Regions from separate parts of the Homo sapiens genome. Here regions 1 and 2 are each linked to region 3. Evidence: promoter capture Hi-C in human tissues and cell types (Jung and others, 2019). All regions are on one chromosome and are shown on one strand. Each heading gives the region's core, a stretch centred on a gene start or on the middle of the fragment in contact. The rest is flanking DNA. Distances are from core to core; before and after follow the strand shown. Region 1 overlaps FMN2 (formin 2). Region 2 overlaps FMN2 (formin 2). Region 3 holds the start of GREM2 (gremlin 2, DAN family BMP antagonist).

Region 1 (2,700 bases), core at 183-2,682, 300 kb after region 3:
TTTTCTGCAGCACAATTGGTCAGCGGTGTGGGTGTATAATGACATCTGGGGGTGCTCTGCCACACCCCAGCAGCATACCCGGAGTGCAGAGCCCTTTGGCAACCTTGCAGTCCTGACCTAGACTCAGTGACCAGTTTGCCTCCAATGCAGACACCACGCACTGTGCACCTGCACCAGCCAAGGCTTGCCTGTGCCCTGAGGTTTGTTTCCTGGGCCCTCCCTACATAGATACTGTACACTCTGGGCTTCACGTTCACTGTAGCATCCTAACTCCTGCATGCCTGCCCACTAGCTAGAGTTCACCTGCCCCCAGAAGTGTGTTTTCTTGCTTGCCCAGAGACGTGACCAGCTATGGCCCAGGCAAACCAGTGGGCTGCAAACACACCTTCTCCAATGAAATCTGCACCCCAGTCTTAGAGAGGGGACCCCCTTCCAAGCTTATCCGAACTTGGGTATGCTTACTCATCCCTAGGGTGCTGTTAAAGTTATCACTATATTCTTGTACTCTTCCATCATAGGTTAATCATTCATTATAATAAACTCTTCTGCTTATATTAGTCTGTGGTTTATGTCCCAATTGAACCCATACTGTTAGACTTTCTAACACTCATACCCTCACTCTCCACCTTCTGCCTTGAGACTACTAGACCCCTGTGTCTGCATATCAATTATGAAGGAACAGACCACTCAAACCTAACATAACCACAGAATTCTCATTGCCCCATTTTCTACCAAGCTGCTTCCACTTATCAGCTAATGGCAATCCCTTCCTATTGCCCAGGCCAAAAATTGTGGGATCACTCTCAATTTCTTGTTTTCTCTCACAGTCCATACCCAGCCCGCTGGCAAATTCTACTGGCATATTCTTCAAAATAGTTCCAGAATCTGACCACTTCTCAGCAGCTCCACTGTGTACACTGAGGTCCAAGCCACTATCATCTCTTAACTGAGGTCCAAGCCACTATCATCTCTTAACTCTGAAAGGTCTCTGACACTCCACCTTGCTTCTCACAGTCTATTCCTAGTTGTCAGAACTTCTTACAGGGGTGTCCAAGGGACAGAATACAGTCGTGGGTTCTTAGTTTCTGTTTCTGGTTGGGCCAGTAAAGCCCCGTCCTCGTCCCTCTTTTCTGCTTATCACTAGACACGAAACTAAACACCATGGCTTCAGGCTGCTAAAAGCCTGAAACAAAACAAAACAGAATGACAACAACAAAATAAAGCGAGTTGGACAAGCTTTGAAACATGAATCCTCTAGCCAAAACTGTGTGTTAACTTCCCATTTTACTCAGAGAAAAAGTTCAAGTCTTACAAAGTTCTACAAGTCCCTAGAGGGGCTAGTCCCCACCAATTTATCTCTAAGTAACTTCTACAATGTTCCCCTCCCTTGTGCCATTTCAGCTGTGTGGGCTTCCAGCTGTTCCCTGAATATATCAGACTTGCTCACACTTCAGGCATGATATGGTCTCTTAGATTTACACATGGCTTCTCTTCCTCATCTCCCGCAATTCCTAGTTCAAATGTCATCTTTCAAATAACAACCATATTTAAAATTGTACCCACCATCCTGGGCAACATCCTTTCCCTCACATTGACTTTTTTTCTCTTTAACACAGAATATTTTAAAAACTATAATGTACCTAATAGCCACAATAATTAATTAATTAATTAAATACCTAGGAATACCAAGAAGGTGAATGATCTCTATAAGGAGAACTACAAAACACTGCTGAAAGAAATCATAGACGACACAAACAAATGGAAAAGCATTCCATGCTCATGGGTTGGAAGAATATCATTAAAATATCCATACTGCCTGAAGCAATCTACTGATTCAATGCTATTCCTATCAAATTACAAACATCATTTTTCACAGAATTAGGAAAAACTATTCTAAAATTCAAATGAAACAAAAAAGAGCCCCAATAGCCAAGGCAATCCTAAGTAAAAAGAACAAAGCCAGAGGCATCATATTACTGGGCTTCTAACTATACTTCAAGGCTACAGTTACCAAAACAGCATGGTACAAAAATAGACATACAGATCAATGGATCAGAACAGAGATCCTTGAAATAAAGTTGCATACCTACAACCAACTCATCTTTGACAAAGTTAGCAGAAATAAACAATGGAGAAAGGACACCCTGTTCAATCAATGGTGTTGTGAAAACTGGCTAACCATATGCAGAAGAATGAAACCGGACCACTACCTCTTACCACACATAAAAATTAACTCAAGATGCATTAAAAACTTAAAAGTAAGACCTCAAACTATAAAAACTCTGGGAGAAAAGCTAGGAAATACTCTTTTAGACATTGGTCTAGGCAAACATTTATGATGAAACCCTAAAAACAAATGCAACAAAACCAAAAATAGAGAAATGGCACAATTAAACCAAAGAGAGCTTCTGCACAACAGAAGAAACTCTTGACAAGAATAAACAGATAACCAACAGAATGGGAGAAAATATTTGCAAACTATGCATCTGACAAAGGACTAATATCCAGAATCTATAAGGGATTTAAATGAATCAACAAGAAAAAAGGAAACAACCTCATTAAAAAGTGGCAAAGGACAATAAAAGACATTTCTCAAAAGATGATAACAAGCAGCTAAACTTAAGAAAAAGTACTCAGCATGACTAAACACCAGAGAGATACAAATCAAAACCACAATGAGATGCCATCTCACACCAGTGA
Region 2 (2,700 bases), core at 76-2,575, 260 kb after region 3:
AATGACATGTCTGGAGGTTGCTTTAAAATATGCTGGATATAGTCACACAAATACTTGTGCCATTACAAAGTAAAAAGATGTTTTTAAAAGTCCACCACTGATAGTTCAGGTATTTAATGAGTCACAGAACAAGTCTGCTTGTTTTGAGGATAGATTTCTTCTCTACTCTCATCTCCTATGAGACAGTCTCCATTTACTCACTTTGCTGTATTACCAGTACTTAGAATAATCTCCCACAGGCAATATGCACTCAACAGTTCTTTGTGGAATGAATAAATAATTTCATTGTATCTTCCTGTCATAGTGAGCTTCTTGTTTATCTGCAAAATGTCTTGCTTATGCACATTTCTCCAACCCTTCCCCATGCTATTCACCCACCAGACATACTCTCACCACTTAATGACCAGTTTTGAACTTCTACTTATCCATTCCCAGAGTCTGGTTCAACTGTTACCTCAAGACAAGAGGGTCAATCTCCCCTCAACTTTGCATCTCCCTTTTCTACAGAACACGTACAAATGATATAGGATAGAATCAAAGCACTGGTTAAACGGATCTGGATGCAAGTCCAGTTCTTCTATTAGCTCTGTAATCTTGGGCTAGCTACTTAAATTATCTCAGCCTCAACTGGAAGTTGAACTTAAAGTGCTAAGCTGGCTGTTAGAAAACTCTTTTAAAAATAAAAAAGCTGTTAATTATATTATTTCATTGAATGTATTTGTTTGTGTATCTTTGTTTCTGATTATAATTTGCATTCCTTGAAGCCAAGGGCTATCCTATTCACCTCTGTGTGTCAAGTGTCTGAAATGCAGAGGAAGTACTAAGACCCTGTATGAAAGAAAGTGCTTTCAATGATGCCCATAATCAAGGCCAAGGCTTTCCTTAATAGGGATATTAAGTCTCCAGTGGTCACTGAGGTAAACCACCAAAACTCACATCCAAATTTCCAAAGCTCAGTGTGATATAAAACCTGTACAGTTATTTCTTGGTAATTGTTGCTTTACTTATTCACTATATTAAGAAGGAAGAGCCTGTTGGATAAATGTAAAAATAGAATGTCACGTTCTAGAGTTTCTACATTCATAACTCTCATATATTTTGTACATACACAATGCCACATATAAATATGCTCAATGTGCTTACATATAAGGAATATATTTAGAAGACTGGACACCATTCTTCTCTTAACTGTAGCACATCAAGTTGCACAACATATCATCTTGGCTATTACTTATCATCCTCAAAATTGGTATGTGACTATGTAAATAAAAAAAAAAAATACCGAACACTACAATCTCACAAACTTGAAGGGTCATTTAGAAACATTATTAAAAACAGAACAAAGATAGAGTTCCTGGAAAACTTGCATTGCAGTCAAATCCAAATATTAAAAAACATTTGTTAGGAGACTGTTGGCATAACCGAGTAATTCCAATCATCTCAACTTTTGTTTAATTTAAAGACTTCTCTGAGTCAAAAAGATTTTATATCATGTTGAAGGGCTAGTATCAGAAAGCATGCATTAGGTTTCCAAATACAAAGAATAACCCAGCCAGAGGAAAGAAAGAAAAATGTCAGACATTCCCACCAGACAATGGGTTCCAATACATCCATGCCATCCACAGAGTGGCACGTTGTGGGGCAAACACCAGTTTATCACTGTCAGATTAAAGCAAGGACATGACATGCCACTCCCTGGAATGAACCATGATCATGAAGAGTCTGGCTATTTTTTTTTTGAGTAGGGAATTGGAATAATTTATACAAGTCTACAAGTTCAATCAATGTTAATCACAGCTTAGAGTTGCTGCTTTTCTGTGAGCTTCCAGAAAGTTTCATTGGCATCTACAAACCAGCCTCAGCAAGTAGGAAGGAAGTCACATAACAGATACAAAGGAAAAGAAATAACTGTAATCAGATCAGAAAGCTTTCTTCTAAAATCCAACTGTTTCCCACGTAAGCCTGGTTTGTACATTATTCTGGGTTCAGTTTTAGGAAACAGACACCATTGTAGCCACTTAAAGCAGATCAATGTAGGCAGCAAGATGCTTGCAAAGTAGGTGTAAGTGCACAGACATTGGGCTCTACACTTGGTCTCCAAAAATGACTCCCAGAACAAAAACTATAAAATCAGCCCACCAGGGGCATGCTATATATGGCACAGTCAGGACCTATGCTGTGTGGTAGGTACCACAGGCTCGACTTTTGGTTTTAGACTCAAACCTTACTTGTTAAGTCTGCACCATCAAATCAGTCATTGCCCTGTGCACCAACTCTGCCTCTCAATATCCACAGAGCTAGTGACCGGACACTGGGAAAATAATTTGAGAAAACCCAGTCACTCCATGTAGTGAGGCAAACAAACAAGCAAAACAAAACAAACAAAAAACATAGAAACAGTAAAAACATTGATGTCTGGCCTCACTACCTTTCACAAGTACTGTATATGTACTGACAAAAGCGAGAGTTAAATTCAGACAAGGGAAGATACAGACACAAGAAATATTTAGGGGGTAAAATTTGCAGAGCTTGGTAATTGAACGGAAGGTCAGTGCTCCTTCATGAAGATGTAAACTTCAGAATCAACTGGGGACTCTTTTCAGAATGTACCTGACAGGGCTCCAACCTAAGTCATTTTGAAAAGTGATCTCTTTCCATCTCACGCCAGTCAGAATGGCTTTTCTTAAAAAGTCAAAAAAA
Region 3 (2,700 bases), core at 2-2,501:
AACCCAATGTGCTGTGAGTTGAGTTGGAACTAGAATATCAAATACCAAATAGCATACAAAAGGGATAACACTGCAAAAAAAAAATTCAAGTCAAAAATCAAAACAGAGCTCAGAGATTTCAGAAGCAATGGCTTCTTGTCAAGAATAACTGTCATTAAAATTTCCATAAGCACCAGTGAAATTGATTTTGGGGAAAAGTCTAAGGGAGGGTCTGTTTTATAAGACACACTGAAACTTTATTTTATTCTGAATTTCCCCAGCCAAGTTTGTAAGATCTCAGATTTTTCTTGGGCCCTTTCCCTGCCAAGGGGCCAAAGGTTTATCTCTATTGACACATACAGATAAAAAATTTTCATCCAGGAACCTCTATCAGCAGAGTCTGAATAGTCGTCTTTGGCTGGTGAATCACACTAAGGGAGTCTCAGTCCTGAGATGATCAGTGGTGAGAAGTTCAAAAAATAATGAAAAGAGCAAGCACTTAGGCGTCACAATACGCTTCTGGTATAACGCACCAAGCCGATGGAGCACAAGAATTGGTCTGGCGTCATTGTTTTATGTTCTCTGGATGTTGAAGAGTCTGATTTGCATTAGAAACCTCTGCATTCAATAAACAAAAATCAGGATAATAATGACCAAAGTACTATTTGGAACAGAAAACAAATTCAAGCAATGGGTGTTTTGCACTGAATTCATTCAAGATTTTATTAGTTAAGCTCTCACTTAGGTTATTAGGCTCAGCTTGCTTTTTATTTCACTGGCCTCAGTTACTGCAAACAAAAGGAGCCTGGTGTGTGTGTGTGTGTGTGTGTGTGTGTGTGTGTAAGCGCACGTGTATGAGAATGTCAGACATATCACACACAGGCTTTCTACATTCTTCACATTGGAAACCCATCAGCAAAAGGAAGAAGATCTGAAGGGAATGAGTGTTTTTTTTTTGTTTTTTGTTTTTTTCTGGTTTAGGGGATGGAGGGAGAATTTCTCTACATAAACAAGAAGGTTAGAATTGGAAGTCTGCTAAAAAAAATGTTAGAGCTGACCACAGGGTTGTAAATCCACTGACTGGAAGGAGGAAAAGAGAAACATTGCAAGCGACTGAAGTGTGTGGTGTGGCTGCAATGTTTGTGGGTTAGATGAGAAACAAGCGCTGAGTGAAACAGAGAAGGGGGGTGGCTGGTGTGATTTGTTTGGTGTTCAGAGCCAATAGAAATCCCAGACTCTGATAATATCCCCATGCAGCGCCGAGAGGATTCAGAGCTAAGTCTCCGGGCTCCTTTCACATCTGCAGGAGCAGCCAGCCTGGGACCGCGCGGCGCGGGGCGCGCTCTCGCCTCTCCTGCACCCTCAGCCGGCGCGCTTCTCTTATGGGCGTCTGCTGCAGTCTGGCTGCGGTCGAACTGAAAGCGGCGGCGGGAGACCAAACTTAGACCCCGCTGTGGACTAGAGAACTCAGAGAAGGCAGAGGGAGAGGGAGAGAGAGAGAGAGAAGGGACCCGAGGAGGAGGCTTCCATCACGTCATTGCAGGTACGCAGCTTGTCACGACTAACGTGACACAGACACGGTTTCTGATTTCTACCTTCACCAGGCACTTAGAATGAATTGACGTTGTTTGTTCCGTGGCTGGTCAGGACCGAAAGCCCTGAGTGGACGTCTCGCCGGTTTCACCCCGGGTAATTCAAGCTGTTGGCGTGTGTCTGGGGGCCACAAGGTTTATTCACCTATTGAATTATGCGTGGGTGTAACATAAGGACCTTCAAACTTGACCGTGATCGCTCTTTCTTTCTCTTTTAAATAACGTCAATACCAATATGTTGTCATCCCACCAATAAATACCTCTTGGTGACCGCCATTCTAATCATGACTATAGCGAGGCAAACACCATCCAATTGTTAGAAAGCGGGCTACGAACCTCTCCCACCTACCTACCAGGTTAATATCCTCCCTACAGGAATAGGAACCACAGCGGACTTCGGCAGAGTTTTGATTTTTTAAAGCATATGGCCAAGGTGCACCCGCCTCATGAGGGAAATATCACTATTATCACTACGCTGTGGTTGAAGGAGAAGAGAGAAGGGAGGTAGTTATTTTTTAACGTGATTGTCAGTGATCCTTCCTGTGTACCTGACTTATTTCTACATTGTCTTACGAGTTTAAAAATGCATTTGTATTCTGCACGCCAGGCACGTTCAGTTCCAGGATCTCACATATTACTACATTAAAAAGTCATGAATTGGAACTATCTAGTAGATGTGATAGTTGTAAGAAAATATTGATGTTTGATTTTATTTTATTTGATCCTAAAACTCATAAACTTCTATTTCTTTTTTTTTTTTATTTTGAGGTGTGGGTTTTGTTAAAAAAATCTATTTCCTGAGATTTTATCATGTTTGATTTGAAATTTTAAAGATAGTTATATAACTCCCCACCCCTTGATGACTTGTGATTAAATTAGCATTGCTTAATGAGTTCAGTCTTTCCTGGGAAAAGCCAGAGGGGACTGCAAGAAGTCAGTTAAAAAATTGGTCTTGCTTTGCAGTCTTCAAGGGCTGGCTGGTATTCATGTGGCTCTGAATCCCTATGAAAAGCGCTTTTTCTGCAGTGGAACAGATTGGGACTCCAGTACAGCCAGAGAATGGCTCTGCAGCAGGTGCAGGGGCAATCAAATACCTTACCTTTCGTCTAAACAGCACTCTTCCCAGTGG

Evidence for each region. Contacts are between HindIII fragments. The study calls those that stand out against the background at their distance.
Region 1: a fragment that was not itself captured here is called in contact with the fragment with the promoter of GREM2 in region 3 in 1 of the 25 tissues and cell types used here (stomach).
Region 2: a fragment that was not itself captured here is called in contact with the fragment with the promoter of GREM2 in region 3 in 1 of the 25 tissues and cell types used here (mesendoderm cells).

What each region holds. Positions count from the first base shown.
Region 1 is chr1:240,306,943-240,309,642 of GRCh38, reverse strand. All of the region lies in intron 8 of FMN2 (formin 2), which reads right to left. Among named protein-coding and RNA genes, the nearest start is that of FMN2, 220 kb to the right of the region's middle. The HindIII fragment of the contact is 4,341 bases long and covers 1-2,700 here.
Region 2 is chr1:240,348,534-240,351,233 of GRCh38, reverse strand. The region is part of intron 13 of FMN2 (formin 2); the gene reads right to left. Among named protein-coding and RNA genes, the nearest start is that of FMN2, 260 kb to the right of the region's middle. The HindIII fragment of the contact is 9,364 bases long and covers 1-2,700 here.
Region 3 is chr1:240,610,706-240,613,405 of GRCh38, reverse strand. GREM2 (gremlin 2, DAN family BMP antagonist) reads left to right here and starts at 1,251. Exons shown (of 2, transcript NM_022469.4): 1 at 1,251-1,522. The HindIII fragment of the contact is 18,584 bases long and covers 1-2,700 here.